Regions from separate parts of the Homo sapiens genome. Here region 1 is linked to region 2. The links are contacts of gene promoters, found by promoter capture Hi-C in human tissues and cell types (Jung and others, 2019). All regions are on one chromosome and are shown on one strand. The core of a region is centred on a gene start or on the middle of the fragment in contact, and the rest is flanking DNA. Distances in the headings are between cores, read along the strand shown.

Region 1 (6,271 bases), core at 2,414-4,913, 590 kb before region 2:
TTCACCAGCATCCAGGACCATTTGGTTTTTGTCTGTCCAATGTTTAGGGACCAGCCATTCAGAACTCAGTTCTGTCGTTCCAGTAGCTCTCAAGCTCTCCCTCTCCCCATGCATCCTCCCCACCCTCAAACAAAAGGCCCTAGTGGAGAATAAGTAGTATGATCCATTCATCAGAAGAAAGCTCAGAGCAGATGATGAATGCCTGCATCTAACAGTACCACCCTCAGGATGCCAAGGCTCTTGGCTCGGTGATATTCACAGACTCAGTCAGTGTCTGTTCCGTAGTTTCTCGGCAGCCTGAAACATGGTGAGAACCCACCAGATGCTTATGGCATCTGTTTCAGGCATTCCACAGCTGTGACAACTCCATGCTGCCTCCCAGAAAGTTCTGGCTACACTGAGTTACTATCTCCATGTCAGTGTTTGCTGTGAATCAGCCCAAGCCGAAATGACCAGAGATGCTTAGCTGGTGACCTCATGCTGCTGTGGATTGGCAGAAGGACTGTGTTTGCAAGTTCCAAGCCACACTCAAGTGTGTGAGCCTGCTTGTGGGCTTCTGGTTAGAACCTTGCTCTGAATAGAAGAGAACAGAGGCCCTTCTGCTCCAGCACTTGCCATTCAGGCAGATGGTCCTGTCTGGTATCAGAGCCTTAACCCTCTCCACTCCCTTGGCTCACTCTCCAGTTCCCTTCGTAGGACTTACCATCAGTACATCTTATTCGATAGGCTTTTCTTTTCTTTTTTTTTTTTTTTTGAGATGGAGTCTCACTGTGTCACCAGGCTAGAGTGCTGTGGTGCAATCTTGGCTCACTGCAACCTCCAACTCCCTGGTTCAAGGGCTTCTCCTGCCTCAGCCTCCCGAGTAGCTGGGATTACAGGCATGCACCACCACGCCAAGCTAATTTTTGTATTTTTAGTAGAGATGGGGTTTCACTGTATTGGCCAGGATGGTCTCCATCTCCTGACCTCATGATCCACCCACCTCGGCCTCCCAGAGTGGTGGGATTACAGGTGTGAGCCACCACGCCCAGCCTTGATAGGCTTATTTGATGTGGCTTATTTGATAGGAGGCTGCTTTTCCCAAATTGTGAGCTTTTTTGGGTTTGTTTTTTGAGACAGGGTCTCACTCTGTCACCCATGTTGGAGTGCAGTGGCACAATCACAGTTCACTGCAGCATCTGCCTCCCCACACTCAGGTGCTCCTCCCACCTTGGGCTCCTGAGTAGCTAGGACTACAGGCATGAGCCACCACACCTGGCTAATTTTTGTATTTTTTTGTAGAGATGCAAAACATGGGGATTCGCCATGTTGCCTAGGCTGGTCTCAAACCCCTGGGCTCAAGCAGTCCTCCTGACTCAGCCTCCCAAAGTGCTGGGATTACAGGCATGAGCCACCACACCCAGCCAGTCATGGGCTTTGTGAAGGCAGAAATTTCCCTGTCTCTTGTCCACACCATTGTGTATGGCAACCGTCCGTTCTAGTGCTGCCCAATAGAACTTTCCGTAATAATGGAAGTGGTGTCTGTTTTGTCCAGCATGGTAGCTACTAGCCACATGTGGCTATTGAGTACTTGAAATGTGACTTGTGCAACTGAGGAACAATAGTTTAAAATCTCATCTTAATTTATCTAAATTACATGTGACAGGTGGCCACCAAATTGGACAGTGCAGGTATAGCCTGGTCCTTGTCATATAGGTATTGACCAAGTGGACAAGTGGATTTAAATGAAACAAAGTCATATTTTTAGTGAGGGAGATGTTCACTTGCAGAATAATTTGGGAGAAATACCTGTGGTTGGAGGGGGAGCAGTAAGGGGCCTGGTCACTCATAAAGACCCAGTGTCCTGATTTCTTGGTGTCCTAGCTCAGACCATGCTCTGTTGGACTCCAAGATGGCTCAGATCCTCTCGCCAAGTCCTCGGTGGGGCACCTGTGCTGAAGGCATGGTGGGCTGCTGGTTTGGATCTTTGGGAACACAGCTAATAGCCAAGCATGGTGTGGGCATAGCCCCATCTGTGTCCATAACATCTCCCTCTCTGCAGCCTGGGTGTGCTGTGTCCTCATGCTGGTCTCTGGCAGTCGTCCTGCCCTGTCGTGGTCACCTCCTCAGAGGTCCTTCTGTTTGAAAGAAGGTCGCCAGCACACCCAGAGCCCCATGCTTCATGCACAGGACGCTGGCGGCTCCCCAGGGCTACGCTTCCCTAATTTCTGGAAGGGGATGCCCTATCGGAGTTGGTTAAAAGTGTGACTGAAATACTTCATGTGAAGTGTTTTTATGTTAAGTCAGTAATATTTTAATTGTTGAATACTTTCTAAAGGAGTTTAGTCAGGTAAATAATTTTTATTGTCAAAGCTACTATTTGCCTCTGTTCAGATGGGCCAGATTTTCTCCGCTGTGAATTGAATGGGCTATTTAGCTGCGTCGTAGGCCTCCCTTTGTGTAGCGCATTGAAGCAATTCCACTTGGCATGTGTGCTCACCGTAGTTTACTGTTCACTAATTCTGGATGGAATTTTGGACAGAACCTGCTCCCTCTGGATCTTGAGCCTCAGGCAGTGCCCTGCAGCTGGGGTGGGTGTTTCCAGGCCCCTCTTGGGGGTGGGGTCCTCACACCTGTTTCCAAATTGGGCTGCGAAGCTGGGTCCTGTTGTATTTGACACTTTGATGATTTTCGTTTCCCTCTTGTTTCCATGGGACTGCTTTCCTTTCCCCTTTTGTGGCTCTTTTGGCTTCAGTCACAGGGAGGCCCCAGGCGTGGACGGTGGGCTTCCCACATCCAAGGCTGCCCCAGAGCACAGGGAGCTGGATGCCTAATTACTGTTGGTGTAAAAATGACCCGTTCTTCATTTGAATTTACCTTAGGCATTTTGGAGAGAGAAGGGGCTGTTCTTTGGTAAGAATGTAAAATAAATGTCAGGCCTACTGGATTGAGCCTTGCAGTCACATATACAGCCATCCCCCACATAATGATGTTTCTGTCAGCGATGGACTGCATGTGAGAAGGTGTTCCCATACAATACTGTGTCTTTATTTTTTCTATGTTGCTACTTTTTCTATGTTTTGTTACACAAGTACCACCGTGTTACAGCTGCCTACAGTATCCACTACAGTAACAGGCTGTACAGCTTAGCAGTTTAGGAGCAAAAGGCTGTACCATATAGTCTAGGCATGTAGTAGGCTACACCATCGAAGTTTGTGTAAGTCCACTATGTGGTATTAGCACAATGATACAATCACCTAACGACTCATTTCTCAGGATGCATCCCTGTCATTGATGATGTGTGGCCTTTCTCAGGAAGTATCCACCTCATTAGGTGATGCATGCACATCTCAGGACAGAATTTCAGGTGAGAGATTGGAAGGAAAGCGTTTGCCCATGGCTTGTTGGGGCATGTGGAGAATATGTGTTACATGGAACGCACATGGAGGATGCTGTAGAGAAAACTGCGACTTGCTGTCGTACACTGAAGATACTGGATTTTTCAGAGGTCCTGAGCATCTCACCAGTACTGGTTTTGGAAATTTTTTATCAAGGCATTCCTTCCTCTGCAAGTGTTTGTTCTAAGAAGGTTCAGTAAGATTAGTGGGCATGGAAGTCCAGACTGCTGTCAGTCAGAACTATCCTCGGCAAAGCAACACGATGGGGAGTAAGCCAGTACCCTCAAGGGTGCGTGGGAGGGACCACCCAGGATCCTGAAAGGAGCAAGATGGGGTGGGGTGACCCTGTGCCCTGTAAGGGGAGGGACAAAGTGGGGTTACCAACATGGAAGGGGTAACAGGGCTCTGGATGGAGGAGGATGTGTATGGGGGTCCTCCAAACAGTGGAGGCAGATAGGGGATCAGAACTGAGGGGGCTGGGTTTGTCCATACCCTATCCTCCTGGTCTCACAGACCCCTGGGTTTTGCCCCTGATGTGGGTGGGTTCCGGAGACCACTCCTCTCTGCGAAGAAGGCAGAGGGGTCAGGTCAGCATGTCCCCGCCCTGTAGGGCAGGCTGAGTGGCCAGCAGTGAGCAGGTAGAAACCCAGGGGTGGTGTCTCAAGCACGAACAAATTAGCCCCTTGACCACCTTCATCAAGCTGTTCTTGCTGTACAGAGTCCATTTTTCTAGTGAGTGATTCCTGAGTATTTAATAAAAAATACTTCTGCCTTCAACAGAAAAATGTATTCATTCATATTTTGGGAAGGATTACACTCCCACAGAAAAATCATCCTTGTTTCTTCTTGAAATGATATTTGGATTCTTTCTGTGTTTTGGGGGCCAGATGTGAGGTTGTGTAAAATGCTTTTGTGGAAATGCCCCCTTTTTACACTGAGACCTCATGTGGTGTCCTGGCATGTAATGAAGTCCTCAGCACAAGCTTAGCCCTTACCGAGAGGAGAGAGAGAACCTTATGCCTGCTTTAAATAACTTGGTGTGTAACCCAGCCTTCCACATGCGAACATTCTCAGCACACTTTAGAAGTGACAGCTGTCCAAAGGTCCGGTCTTCTCATGGATTCTTAGAAGAACAAAGTCTGTATGAAAGATGGCTTATGTTGTTGATCTTTTAGGAAATTATTTTTAAATTGAGGTTACATTATTTATAGCACACACATTATTCCTCAAAGGATTTGAAGAGACTTACTTGAAATGATGCAGATAAGAACTTTAAAACACTAAGTCAGGAATAGGACATGAGGAACCGCTCAAACATTCGTGCCATGGCATACTAAATTGAGCTACTACTGTGGCTGTGGAATGCCATGTGGCCAGAATTAGAGGGGAACACAATCCTTGTAAACCATTTTTATTGTCCATGGGAGAAATCGCAGCAGTTCCTCAGAAAAAGAGAAGCACTTTCTGGTACTTTCATTCTAAACAACTCTCATAGAAGGCTGTTGGATGCTTTAGATATTTTTAAAGGTGACTTCCTGGAGGCAGCATTGTAGGAGCTAAGAACTCAGACTGGCCAGGTCCAGTGGCTCACGCCTGTAATCCCAGCACTTTGGGAGACTGAGGCGGGTGGATCACGAGGTCAGGAGTTCAAGACCAGTCTGGCCAACATGGTGAAACCCCGTCTCTACTAAAAATACAAAAACTAGCCAGGCGTGGTGGCGGGTACCTGTAATCTCAGCTACTCAGGAGGCTGAGTCAGGGAATTCCTTGAACCCAGGAGGCAGAGGTTGCAGTGAGCCGAGATCGCGCCACTGTACTCCAGCCTGGGCGACTGAGCAACACGTGTCTCAAAAAAAAAAAAAAAAAAAAAAAAAAAAAACAACTCAGACTTAGCCACACTCCCTCTAGCTGTGGGACCTTAAGTAAGTGGTTTAATTTCGGAGGCTTATTTTCCTCATCTGTAACAGAGAACTAAGAGTAGTGCTTGCCTCATAGAAGTTGATTGTGTTCACTGAATTTATGAATATGGAGGACCAAGAGCATCGTGTAGGCAGCCCTTTACAAATGGCATGGTATGTTATTTAAATCCAATAGCATCTTCCTGTTTTAATCAAGAGCATGACTTCAGGTCCATTCAGTTGCTTGGGTTAAATTTCTGATACTGACACTGATTCCCTTTGTGATTTGGGGCAGATGATATAACCCCTGTGACTCAGTTATTTCACCTCAGTAACATGGGCATCATCATGACACCTGGTTCAAAAGGTTCTTAACAAGATTAAATGAGAATCCACCCAGGGTATTTTGTGCAGCTCTCAGCAGTTGATACGTGTTGATACAATGCTATGTATTGTCAGGGTTGTGATAAGTTGATTAATATTATTAATATAATATGTTAATGTATGCTATACATTTGTCAGTTGAATAAGTGGATGTATAAGTGATGGAATCTTCAATTTTGCAATTACTTTGGAAGATGGAGTCATAAGTGAAGGATGGAAAAGAAAGGAATTTTGATCACACACATGAAGTCCTGTTTACAGGTGCAGTTACACATTTTATTTTTTAAAAGAAGTTGGCAATTTGAGGTTCCTGTTTAATCTTGAATGCACATACAGGCTGACAGTGTTTTTACAGTAGAGTTTGTAACATGGTCAGGAGTGTTCTGGTTACCCAGATTTGGATTCTGCCCTGTATTCACCTCTGTTAGATAGCTCGGTGAAAATGGGTTCATGTCTGTCGGCAGAGGGAGCCACATTTTTCCATGATGCTTGGTTGATGCCTGTTGCCTTATAACACAGAATCCCCATACTTGGCTCCAGCCAGGCTGCTTCTGCAGGCCCCATCATGGCCATTGGGAGATCTGGCCCTCCTGGGAGAGTTTTGCCAATGGG
Region 2 (6,133 bases), core at 2,278-4,777:
TGGGACCACAGGTGCCTGCCACCACGCCCGGCTAATTTTTTGTATTTTTAGTAGAGACAGGGTTTCACCGTGTTAGCCAGGATGGTCTCGATCTCCTGACCTCGTGATCCACCCGCCTCGGCCTCCCAAAGTGCTGGGATTACAGGCGTGAGCCACCACGCCCAGCTCAAAATTTATTTTAAAATACTCTAATATTTAATCTGAGATAATTTCCCCTGAAACATAACTGTGCCATACACAAGAGTCAGAAAAGGTGGCATCAGGCCGGGCACGGTGGCTCACACCTGTAATCCCAGCACTTTGGGAGGCCGAGGTGGGCAGATCACGAGGCCAGGAGTTTGAGACCAGCCTGGCCAACATGGTGAAACCCCATCTCTACTAAAAATACAAAAGTTAGCCAGGCATGGTGGCGCATGCCTGTAATCCCAGCTACTCGGGAGGCTGAGGCAGGAGAATTGCTTGAACCCAGAAGGTAGAGGTTGCTGTGAGCCGAGATTGCGCCACCGCACTCCAGCCTGGGTGACAGAGTGAGACTCCATCTCGGAAAAAAAAAAAAAGAAAGAAAGAAAAGGTGGCAGCAATAGATTAAGATGATTTAAGGCTTTGAATTCATTATGAAATGAGTGCATAGCAGAGGTAATATAATTTGAAAAAAATTGCAATCCACTTATCCTACCTACTTTTTAAATAACTCACCTAAATTTTTTCATCCTTTTATTATAACTTAGAATAAAGTGCAGAGACACAAATCAAAACAAAACAAAAATCCACAAGATGGTAAAATCTCTGTTATGGAGCTTCTTTCCCCTGGTAAGAGAAGCAACAAGCAAGACAGATGAATAAACACAATGCATTCAGAAAGGCTTGGAAAAGATAAAACATGGACATGTGACAGAGAATGTGGGTGTTCAGGGAGGCTTCGGAGAAGGTGACATATGAACAGAGATCTGAATGGTGGAGGTGGGGGCAGCCATGCCAAGGACTGGGGGAAGGTGGTGTGCACAGAAGGACCAGAGGTGTTGGAGTACCCAGATACTGTTTACTCTGTGGATACACAGAGTGAATGGCAGGAAGGGTGGTAAGAGATGACATCAGGGAAGAAGGCAGAGGCACCTCATCTAAGGCTTGTAGGACATGGCAATTCAAAATCCCTAGATTCTGATCCACATGATGATCACAGAATGAGGACTTACTCGGAACATGCTTGTTCACTCAGCTCATGCCAGGCATAGGAAACCACTGACCAAATAAATACATACTGATCATCTATTATGTGCTTAAGCACCCTTACGGAAAAACTTTTTAAAGCGATGCCATGGATTTTCACTCAGGAATTTAAAGAATGTTTTGTCCACTGTGATTTTCAAAATAATAGCTAAGAACAAGGTTAAGATCACTTCACTAATAACCTCCAGAATGACAGACAATAACAATGATTTCCGTTTCAACATCACATTTATATGCAATACCCATATTTATTATGCAACATCATAAGAGCTTTTCTATTAAGATCTTGGTATTCAGCAACAAACTCTTTCTTGACTTAGTTCTAAGCCAAATATGACCCCTGATCTTGCTTGGATGGGAGATTTGTAAAGTATTATGAAAAACACACTTAGTTTTTCAGCCCTATAACATTAGCATACATATGAATGTGTTCAGTAACCATAAACATCCAATATACATAAGGTGGTATTCATACGTTTTCTGGTTGCAACAATTACCCTTCATTTTGTATGAAGAGAATAAAGGGAAGGAAACCAAGATGAACCACGCCTGTAATAGGGACTAGACGTGGAGTTCCCACTTAATGCTCCCAATAGCCCCATGAGTAAGTATTATCTCTGTTTTACTGAAGTGCAGATAAGTTGGTTAACTAGCTAGGTCAAAGCTCACACTCATTTCCAAATTAATCCTTAAAGCTTCCTGACTGGGAGGAGCTGATTAATTAACATTAATTTATTCATCATGCACTTTTCTAAAGCTCTTGAAAAGCCTATTGATCCACACTGGACTTATCAAAGGAAATGCACAAAAATTTCCAAAGGGAAATTTGCCCTCTATTGCTGGTCAAAACAGCTTCACTGAAGAAGAGACATACCAAAATCTAGAAACTGATTTTCTTTAAAAGTCTGACAAGAAAGAAAAATCTGACAAGAAAATTCGACTAGCCTAAAGTACAAATGCACAGCCTCGCAGAGGGTGGTTTACATGAGAGTTGAGATGTTACTGGCTCGCAAAATGAGGGTGTGCAGAAGGAGGGTTCAGAGACAGCCCAGCTTTGTCTTAGACAAAATTAATGTTCCCAGTCTGAACAATGTGAACATGGGCACATCTTGTTTCTGCCCCTTTGATAGGCAGCAGATGTCACAACCAGTCATAAATGCAGGTCCACAGAAGTTTTCAAGAAAGGAACCTTGGGTTTGTATCCAAGTTCTGAGCTGCTGCTGCCTCCAACACTGAGGTCCACTGAAATATTCCTGTCAGTAGACTTCGAGCAGGCAGTTATTATAAAAACGCAGTGAAATCTGGGGCAAGGGGTGGGGGGGGGGAATCTCTTGCATTTTATTTAAATCTCTTGCACTTTATTTAAGCCCACACAAGTACTCATTTAGTTCTTGTTTATTTTGCTCTTTAATTCCTGGAATTATTCAGTCAGTGGTGTTTTTGGAAGTCTGTGTTCTCCAGAGTCTCCCCATCCACATATTTTTGACATGCTTGTATGGAAATTTTTTAAAAATAAAGACCACGGTCAATAGAATTGTGCATTTTCCTCACGAGTCGTTTTGTAAATGAATGATCACGTGTGTGATTTTTCAGATGTCACTTGCACAACAGCAGACTAGAACTTTAAAACTCCTTGATTTCAGTGAAATCCAAGCTTTGCCTATTCCCGTTCCTCTTCCATCCAGGGGTTATTTGGCTGAACTGTTTTCCTGTTTAAACAACTTGAACACCAACCAACTAGACAAACAGCGCTGCTTGCAAAAGAGGGCCTACTTCCTCCGGCCCCCACCCCCATCCCAGCAACCCCACTCCGGCCGCGCACCAGCAGGGGAAATCGCCACCAACGTCCCCGCTTCTCATTTCAGCCCGAAATTGCCCTGAAACGGCGCCCGTCGTGCGACTCCAAGTCCCTCAGTTCTCCGGCCAACTGGCCTAATTTGGGGGTTCCCTCCCCGCGGAGTGGGGTCTGCGGTGAGGATGTGGACTCCGAGGAAGACAGAGCCCTCCCTTATTCTCGGCCACCTCCCCTCCCCGAGGGCAGGCGGGTGAGAGGTGACCCGGAGCCAGGACCCACGGGGGACGGGCGTGCAGGGAAGGGCGGGATGGCCGGCCGGGTGTTGCGTCTGCGGGCCGCCCTCGGGTGCGCGGGGACGAAGAGCGTGCGTTGGGAAGGGGGCGAAGGCGGTCGCGCACGGTCCCGGCGAGGGACTACGTAAGGGCTTACCCGCGACGGCAGCAGCGGCGAGGCCCAGCAACGGCAGCAGGAGCGCGGGCAGCGCGGCCCGGAGCATGACGGCGGGTGCGGGTGGGCGGCAGCGGCTGCGCGGCCGGAGAGGAGCGGGGCGGGGCGGGAGCGGGGGCGGTGCTTCTCGCGTGCGAGTTTAATCCCCCCCCCGGGCGGAACGTGAACGGCACTGGGGGCTCCCACCAGGAGAACCCGGGTGTCCCGTCCCGCAGGAGCGGCTGGCGCGCGGCCTTCTGGAACTTCTAATTTTTGTTTTTTAAACTTTTCATTTGAATTGAAATAATTTAGGACTTTCGAAAATGTTGCAAAAACAGCACAAGAGATTTCCGTAACCCTTCAGCCAGCTTCTCTAAATATTGACATTGTATATAACGCCAGTGCAGTGATCAAACACAGGGCACTCGCACTGGGATAATGCGATTAGCTAATCTACAGCACTTACCACATTTCATTAATTGCCCCTCTAAGGGTCCTTTTCTGTTCCAAGATTCAATCCAGGATCATACATTGCATGTCGTGTCTCCTTAGTCTCCCTTTAATCTAGGACGGTTCTCTGTCATTCTTTTTCTTTCACGATCAAACCACATTTAAAAAGTACTGGCCAGTCGTTTTGTAGAATGTCCCTCAGTTTCATTTTGTCTGACATTTCCTTCTAATTGGATTCAGGTTGCGCTTTTTTGGGAAAGAGTTCCCCAGAAGTGATGTACGTGCTCGAGAAGGACAAGATGTCGATGTCTCATCACTGATGTTAACTTGGATCAGTTGGTTAAGGTGGCGTTTGCCAGCCTTCTTCTTTGGATCTACTGGCCAGAATCCTCCTTTTCAAAGACCCCTTTCAGTGGACTATGTCTCTTAGACAACTTTTCTCTGTTACCAGCTCCTGGATGAAGAGTCTTTAAGCTATGTTTGCTACAATGTATGCATAAACTGTGCAATTATACTTCACCCATGAGGGCCTCTGGACAACACTAGCCAGGGTCAAGCAAGGGTGCTTGTTTAAGCCTCATGTCATTGGCAAAAGAGTTCTATAAAATCAAGTCTAAACTCAACAACGTGAAAACAAATGACCCAGTTAAAAAAAATGGTCAGATGATCTGAATACACACGTCATCAAAGAAGTTATATAATGGCAAATAGATGAAAAGATGCTCAACATCATATGTCATTGCTGAATTGTATATGAAAACAAAAATGAAATACCACTACATACCTATTAGATACCAGAATCCAAAAACACTGACAAGACCACATGCTGGCAAAGATGTGGAGCAAAAAGAACTCTCATTCAATGCTGGTGCAAATGCAAAATGGTACAGCCACTTTGGAAGACAATTTGGAAGCTTCTTCCAAAACTAAACGTACTCTTACCATACCATCTAGCAATCACAACTCCTTGGTATTTATCCAAATGAGTTAAAAACTTACATACACACAAAAACCTGCACATGAATGTTGATAGCAGCTTTATTCATAATTGCCAGAACCTAGAGGCAAACAAGATGTCCTTCAATAAGTGAATGGATAAACAATGGCACATCCAAACAATGAAATGTTACTCAGTACCAAAATTAAATGAGCTATCAAGCCACAAAAAGACATGGAAGAACTTTAAATATGTATTGCTAAGAGAAAGAAGCCAATCTGAAAAGACTGCATACTATATGATTCCAACTATATGACATTTTAGACAAGGCAAAACTATGGAGACAGTAAAAAGATAAATGGTTGCCAGGGGTTGGGGTGGGAAGAAGGAGGGGATGAATAGATGGAACACAGAGGATTTTTAGAGCCATGAAATTATTCTGTAGGATACTGTAATGGTAGATGTGTATCACTATACATGTGTCAAAACCCATAGAATGCACAAAACGAAGATGAACCCTAGTGTGGACAATGGACTTTAGTTAATAATGTGTCAATATTGGCTCATCCACTGTAACAAATGTACCTGCTAATGCAAGATGTTAATAATTGGGGAAACTGGGGTATGTGTAAGGAGGTACATGGGAGCTCTGTACCTTCTGCTACATTTTTTGTATACATCTAAAACTGCTCAAAAATTAGTCTATTTTTAAAAAAATAAAATCTGACCCTTTCCAACTCTTTCTAACCCTTTCCACACTTCTGATAATCCAGAGTGGTTACACCAAGGAAATTTGACCCAAGGGGTCTATAAGGAGAGTCATAGAGTGTTAGAAGTGGTACTAGTAAGGAAATTGAGTGACCCAAAGAAGGGATGTGATTCCCCCGTGGGCTCACAGAGAATGCCAACAAATGAACCAGAGCCCAGCTCCTCTGCTGGACTCTCCCACCTATTCCAGGTTCTGCCCCTTTGCCAAAGTATTAAGGTCTTGCTTAACTTATTTACTTCCATTTTTCTTCTCAGGCTGCCAATACTGAGTTTATTATATACCAAACTCCAGACCAGAGCAAATCCTTCCAAAGATACTCTATATTGGAATATTGACACATCTTGATTCTGGACCCTTTTGCCCTCCTAACTACAGAAGTAAAATGAACAGTTCTAAGCAATCATGTAATTGTGAAAGTTATCTCTTCCACCCCCACCTCAGGCACCAAAGTATATTTTATCAATGTGGTTTTGTGTTAAGCTACTTTTCAAATATTTTTATATTTACAATAGAATTGACATCCTAATGA

What was found. The method cuts DNA at HindIII sites, captures the fragments that hold promoters and counts their contacts. A contact is called where the count stands out against the background at its distance.
Region 1: a contact is called between a fragment that was not itself captured here and the fragment with the promoter of CD302 in region 2, in 1 of the 25 tissues and cell types used here (lymphoblastoid cells).

The regions. Positions count from the first base shown.
Region 1 is chr2:159,202,472-159,208,742 of GRCh38, forward strand. The region is part of intron 19 of TANC1 (tetratricopeptide repeat, ankyrin repeat and coiled-coil containing 1); the gene reads left to right. Among named protein-coding and RNA genes, the nearest start is that of MIR6888, 19 kb to the left of the region's middle. The HindIII fragment of the contact is 3,711 bases long and covers 1,809-5,519 here.
Region 2 is chr2:159,794,681-159,800,813 of GRCh38, forward strand. CD302 (CD302 molecule) reads right to left here and starts at 3,528. Exons shown (of 6, transcript NM_014880.5): 1 at 3,452-3,528. The coding sequence starts at 3,518. The region is part of intron 33 of LY75-CD302 (LY75-CD302 readthrough); the gene reads right to left. It overlaps LOC124906083 (a long non-coding RNA gene), which reads left to right and starts at 510. Exons shown (of 2, transcript XR_007087273.1): 1 at 510-3,272; 2 at 4,139-5,572. The HindIII fragment of the contact is 5,989 bases long and covers 2,402-6,133 here.